2 separate regions of the Homo sapiens genome follow, and region 2 is linked to region 1. Evidence: promoter capture Hi-C in human tissues and cell types (Jung and others, 2019). All regions are on one chromosome and are shown on one strand. The core of a region is centred on a gene start or on the middle of the fragment in contact, and the rest is flanking DNA. Distances in the headings are between cores, read along the strand shown. Region 1 holds the start of HPDL (4-hydroxyphenylpyruvate dioxygenase like). Region 2 has its middle 32 kb from the start of LINC01144.

Evidence for each region. The method cuts DNA at HindIII sites, captures the fragments that hold promoters and counts their contacts. A contact is called where the count stands out against the background at its distance.
Region 2: a contact is called between a fragment that was not itself captured here and the fragment with the promoter of HPDL in region 1, in 1 of the 25 tissues and cell types used here (aorta).

Annotation. Positions count from the first base shown.
Region 1 is chr1:45,325,497-45,328,542 of GRCh38, reverse strand. HPDL (4-hydroxyphenylpyruvate dioxygenase like) reads right to left here and starts at 1,648. Exons shown (of 1, transcript NM_032756.4): 1 at 1-1,648. The coding sequence starts at 1,394. The coding sequence ends at 279. RefSeq lists enhancers at 437-546, 1,307-1,556, 1,567-1,616. The HindIII fragment of the contact is 17,678 bases long and covers 1-3,046 here.
Region 2 is chr1:45,269,953-45,273,318 of GRCh38, reverse strand. No RefSeq gene overlaps it. Among named protein-coding and RNA genes, the nearest start is that of LINC01144, 32 kb to the left of the region's middle. The HindIII fragment of the contact is 5,266 bases long and covers 1-3,366 here.

The sequences.
Region 1 (3,046 bases), core at 399-2,898:
TATGTTCTATTTCCTAGTGTGTAATTCTTTTATTGTTCTTTGTATCTTACATATTTATTATAGACTGTATATAAGAAATGTTTTAGTTTTAAAAAATCCCACCTCTTTGGAGCCCAATGAGAGACACAGCTTCTGGCAGGCACTGATGAAATGGAAGTCACACCTGCCCCCCGGAGGCAAAGCCTTTCACTAGTTGGGCCTCCTGCAGATGTTCCTCAGTTCTGTGCTGGTCTCCCCAGAGCTGCAGGACAGCTGGCTGCACCCAGCCCTGGGCATCCTTAGGCTTCCTGGCTCCTGGCAGATTGCTCCTGTACGGACTGCCACAGAGCTCTGATGTTGCCCTGACCAAAGCCAGTGGCCCCCTGCCTCTGAATCAGCTCCAGGAAGAAAGTGTCCTCAGTAAAAAGGGACTTGGTGAAGACCTGAAGCAGAAACTTGCCTTTATCACCATCTAGCAGGATCCCCTGTCGAGCAAGCAGATGAGGCTCGTGCCCTGCAGCTCGGATCTGCCTCTCCTTTCCTGGCTGCTGGTAGTATGCCCCAGGGGGAGCCAGGAACTGGCCTCCAGCAGTTGCCACCCCCTCAGTGGCCTCCACAATGTTAGGCGTATACAGCCCCACGTGCTGCAGGCCTGGCCCCTTGTGCCGGGCCAGGAACTGCTCCACCTGGTCCTGTCGTGTCGTCGCCCCCGGAAGGGACTCAGCCAGAACAAGAGTGGGGACAATGCTGCCCGGCTGGGCCTGCAGGGCTGTAAGCCTCAGTCCCCCAAGCCCAAACCCTGCTGTCATTTCGAGGCCCAGCTCGGGATCCTCACCTGGGCTCAGCGGCAAGTGGCAAAAGCCCAGGCAGTCGTGGAACCAGCGCAAAAGTGTGGGGGAGCTGCCGGGGGTGCAGGCCAAGGTCAGGTGGTCCACGCGGCTGACCCACCCGGGGCCAGGCGCAGAGGACACGGGCCTGAAGCCGGGTAGGAAGGGTCCGCGGTAGCCAGCGCGCTCCAGCAAGGTCAGGCTGAGGATGCCGGCAGGCGAGCTGACCACGGCGTAAGTGGCGGCACCCTGCGCGTCCCGCACGCGAACGGGAGGGACAGGCACGCTGCAGCCCAGCGCTGCCAGCTCCCGGGTTGCAGCGCCGGCGTCCGCCACGTCGAAGCACAGGTTTGTGGCGCTGGGCACGGCGTGACGCGGATCCAGGCCGTACAGCGGCTCTCCAGACCCTGCGCCCTCGTTCACCAAAAAGACCGCGTCGCCGCTGCGCAGGGCTAGCTGCCGCCAGCCGTCCACCTCCCGCGAAGCCAGGGGCTGGAAGCCGAAGAGGCGCTGCAGGTTCCGGGCTAGGGGCTGCCCGGCGGGCACGTGGAAGGCGATGTGGCACAAACGAAGGGCGGGCGCGGCCATGGCGCTCTGGACGGCGACCTAGACTTGTCCTTCTGGGGCCGCTTACTTGTGGTTGGGGACTTCGGGGCTCTCAGTCCTGGGCTGATCGTCCGGAGTTGGGGAGTCCGGCTCACCCCGCAGAGCGCGTTCCTCGCTTTCTTCCGGAAAGAAGTCACCCGCCGACCCCTGAGAGCTCGCGGTTCTCCCTGCAGCGCCACCCCAGCCAGGAGCAGCGTCTGGACCACCGGGTCTCAGTGAGCCGAGCTGCTGGTTGTGAGAACCACGCGGTGCCTGTGCTCGCGCCAAGCAGGAGAAAGAGGGCGGAGCCCGTGACTCCGCCTTTGACTCCCCACCCCCTCCCCCACACCCTGTCGCCTCGGATACTGCGGGGTCGCCGCGCTGCTCTTTCCCCGGGCCTCACGCCTGGTCACATCCTTGGGCACTGAGCCTCCCTTCCCCAGCCCAGGAACTCACAATGGCTGCCTTCACTCGGCGCCAGGCACTGGGCTCCCACTCATCCCCCCAACCTCACAGCGAAGGGACTCAGCCCGGGTTCAGGGAAAGAGTTGGAATTCTCTCTCCACAAGCACGGAATTTTTTAGCACTTTCATGTTTTTTCTTTAAGTTCTGGAGTTTGCCTCTAAGTCTTAATGTTCCCTGGAATACACACACACACACACACACACACACACACACGTTTATATGTTTTGAGACAGGGTCTCACTCTGTCACCCAGGCTGGAGTGGCACAATCACAGCTCACTGCAGCCTCCACCTCCTGGGTTCAGGCGATTTTCCTTGCCTCAGTGCACAAATAGCTGGGACCACAGGCGGACGCCACCACACCCAGCTAATTAAAAATAATTTTTTTTTTTAGAAATGGGGTCTTGCTATATTGCCCAAGCTGGTTTTAAACCCCTGGGCTCAAGCCATCTTTCCACCTCAGCCTCCCAAAGTGTTGGGCAATCTCTCAACCAGTCCTGTCTCTTTCTTCAATCACCCTTCTGTCAACATCATTTAACCCCTTGTCCCAAGCAAGATTTGGAGGAAAAATCTGACGGTTCGGGATCTGAAAGGAACAGCTGCCTGGCTGTCATTCCCCTTCCCCATCCTTTGAGGACTGGAACACAGGCCCTCCTTGCTCTTTGCAGCTTCCTGACTTGGCATTGAGCCAGAGATTTCTGTGGTGGGGGCACTTCTGGCTCTGAAACCCAGAATTGTGTGAGATGACTGGATTGAGGAATTTGTAGTCTTCTGGAACTTCAACTGAGTGGCCCTTGAAGGGTTAGGGAAGGGCATCCAAGAAGGGCAAAGGGCATAAGCAAAAACTCAGTAAGAGTGTGAGCCAGACTCTTAGAGGAGCAATGGGCCATGCTGTTAGGGAGGCATTTAGGATGAATGCCACAGTCCAAGGCATCACAAGAAATTTTTTTGTCAGGCAGCCTGATCTACTGGGTTTCATTGGCAAGAGGGAGAAGGATGTCATAGGGGACAGGGGCTAGCTGGATGTCATGGTGTTCAGGCCTGCAGGCAGGAGGGCAGTACCCAGGAGCTGGTCAGGGTGGTAAAAGGTACTTGGTGCTACTCTGCAGACCAGTGAATGTGAGGACATGAGTTCCAAAAGCCAGACGGACCTGGGTTTGAATCACCAGCAACACTTACTGTCTGTATGGG
Region 2 (3,366 bases), core at 794-3,293, 56 kb after region 1:
TAGACTGTGGTGGAAGTGACTGTGTGTGACTTCTGAGGCTGGGTTAAAGAAGATACAGCTTCCTCCCTGCATTTTTCTCACTCTTGGATCACTCATTCAGGGGAAGCCATACCATGCTGTGAGGTCACTGAGGAAAACCAGAACGCCCCTGTGGTATTCTGTCATAGCAACGCAAAATGGATTAAGACAATGACAAACCAAAAGAAAACAAACAAAAAATTGTTCATAAATATGCTAATTCATTCATTCAGCATTCATTGCAAAACTATTTTATTATTAGTCATCTATTGCTACATAACAAATTTCCCCAGAACTTAGAGGCTTAAAACAACAATAATCATTTATTCTTTCTCATAAGATATAACTTGGTATGGTGGCTCTCGCTAAGAATTAGCTAGATTCTGTGGGAGGCCTCAATTCCTCTCTAGTTGATACCTGGAGAGGAATTGAGGCCTCCCACAAACAGCCAGCAACCACTTGCTAGTGATGGGAGAAAGCTACCTTGAAAGTGGATTCTCCAGCCCCAGTCAAGCTTTCAGATAGCTGCAGTTCTGGTTGACATCTGAACTGTAACCTCACAAGGGATTCTCAGCCAGAACCACCACACCAAGTTATATCCTGTGAGAGATAATAAATGATTGTTGTTGTCTTAAGTCTCTAAGTTCTGGGATAATTTGTTATGTAGCAATGGATAACTAACCATAAAATATTTTGCAATTAATACTGAATGAACAAATCAGCATATTCATGAACAATTTTTTGTTTTCTTTTGGTTGGCATTACCTTCATGCATTTTGTGTTGTTATCCCAGAATACCACAGACTGGGTTATTTTATTTTATTTTATTTTATTTTATTTTATTTTATTTTATTTATTTTATTTTATTTTATTTTATTTGAGACAGAGTCTCACTCTGTTGCCCAGGCTGGAATACAGTGGCATGATCACAGCTCACTGCAGCCTCAACCTCCTGGGCTCAAGTGATCCTCCCACCTGAGCCTCCCGAGTAGCTGGATCCACAGGTGCATGCCACCATACCTGGCTGATTTTTGTATTTTTTGTAGAGATGGAATTTTGCCATGTTGCCCAGGCTGGTCTTAAACTCTTGGGTTCAAGCAATCTGCCAGCCTCAGCCTCCCAAAGTGCTGGGATTACAGGTGTGAGATACCATGCCCAGCCCAGACTGGGTAATTTTAAAAGAACAGAAATTTATTTCTTAAAGTTCTGGAGGCTGTGAAGTCCAACATTGAGGGTCTGCCTCTGGTGAGGGCCTTTTTGCTGCATCATCTCATGGTGAAAAGTGGAAAGGCAAGAGAGGGCGTGTGAGAGCAAGAGAACAAGAAGTGGCCAAACTCGCTTTTATAGCAACCCACTATCATGATAACTAACCTACTCCTGTGATAATGACATTAATCCATTGACGACAGCAGAGCTCTCAGAAACTAATCACCTCTTATCAGGCCCCACTTCCCAAGACTGTTGCCTTAAATTTTTTTTTTTGAGACAGAGTTTCACTCTTGTTGCCCAGGCTGGAGTGCAGTGGCACGATCTCAGCTCACTGCAAACTCTGCCTCCTGGGTTCAAGCAATTCTCCTGTCTCAGCCTCCCAATTAGCGGGGATTACAGGTGTATGCCACCATTCCTGGCTAATTTTTGAATTTTTAGTGGAGACAGGGTTTCATCATATTGGTCAGGCCGATTTCAAACTCCTGACCTCAGGTGATCCTCCCGCCTTGGCCTCCCAAAGTGCTGGGATTACAAGCATGAGCCACCGTGCCTGGCCTTAAAGATTAATTTTATAACACATGAACTTTGGGGGACACATTGAAACCATAGCAGGAATAAATCAGGAATTACATTAGTAATAATTCCAACAGGTGCCTGAAATTTTCTTTTACATTTTCTCTGTACTTTATGGACTTTCTCAACCATACAAATTGGAGTAAAAACACAAACAAGATAGCACAAATATCTAATCCTAGAAAGACTGTGTTGGTTGAGTGATTTCAATATGAGGAAAGATTAATTATACATGTACTTCCACTATCCACCGCCAAAGATTAGTTGGCATACAAGGCACAACGCTTATGGATCATGAAATCATGATGAAATTTTGGTCAAGAAAGGTTTTTTTTTTTTAAAAAAAAATCTTAAATGTAGATTTTTACCCAATCTTTAAGGCAGTAGTTGATTTACATTTTATTACATGCTTTAACCAAAAGTTTGTACTTTTTGGGTTAAAAAAGCCAAATATTTAAGGGTAATCAACCACTGCAACTGCTTTGTCTTTGTCTCTGTCAACAGTACCCTCTGAATCCTTTCAGTTTCATAGAGGATAAAGAGAATTTTCACAAGGAATCTTAATGTATTAGTCTGTTTTTATGCTGCTGATAAAGACATAAGGCTGAGAGGAAAAAGAGGTTTAATCGGACTTATAGTTCCACATGGCTGGGGAGGCCTCAGAATCATGGTGGGAGGTGAAAGGCACTTCTTTACACAGTGGCAGCAAGAGAAAATGAGGAAGAAGCAAAAGTGGAAACCCCGGTTAAACCCATCAGATCTTGTGAGACTTATTCACTATCATGAGAATGGCATGGAAAAGGCCAACCCCTGTGATTCAATTACCTCCCCTGGGTCCCTCCCCCAACACGGGGAATTCTGGGAGATACAATTCAAGTTGAAATTTGGGTGCGGACACAGCAAAACCTTATCATTCCAACCCTGGCCCCTCCAAATTTCACGTCTTCATGTTACAAAACCAATCATGCCTTCCCAACAATCCCCCAAAGTCTTAACTCATTTCAGCATTAACCTAAAAGTTCACAGTCCAAAGTCTCATCCGAGACAAGGCAAGTCCTTCCACCTATGAGCCTGTAAAATCAAAAGCAAACTAGTTACTTCCTAGATACAATGGGGGTACAGGTATTAGGTAAATACAGCTGTTCCAAATGGGAGAACTTGGCCAAAACAAAGGGGTTACAGGGCCCATGCAAGTCCAAAATCCAGCAGGGCAGTCAAATCTTAAAGCTCCAAAATGATCTCCTTTGACTCCATGTCCACATCCAAGTCACACTGATGCAAGAGGTGTGTTCCCATGGTCTTGGGCAGCTCTGCCCCTGTGGCTTTGCAGGGTACAGCCTCTCTCCCAAGCTGCTTTCATGGGCTGGCATTGAGTGTCTGCGGTTTTTCCAGATGCACAGTGAAAGCTACCAGTGGATCTACCATTCTGGGGTCTGGAGGATGGTGGCCCTCTTCTCACAGCTCCACTAGGCAGTGCCCCCAGTAGGGACTCTGTGTGGGGGCTCCAACCCCACATTTCCCTTCTGCACTGCCCTAGCAGAGTCTCTCCATGAGGGTCCCGCCCCT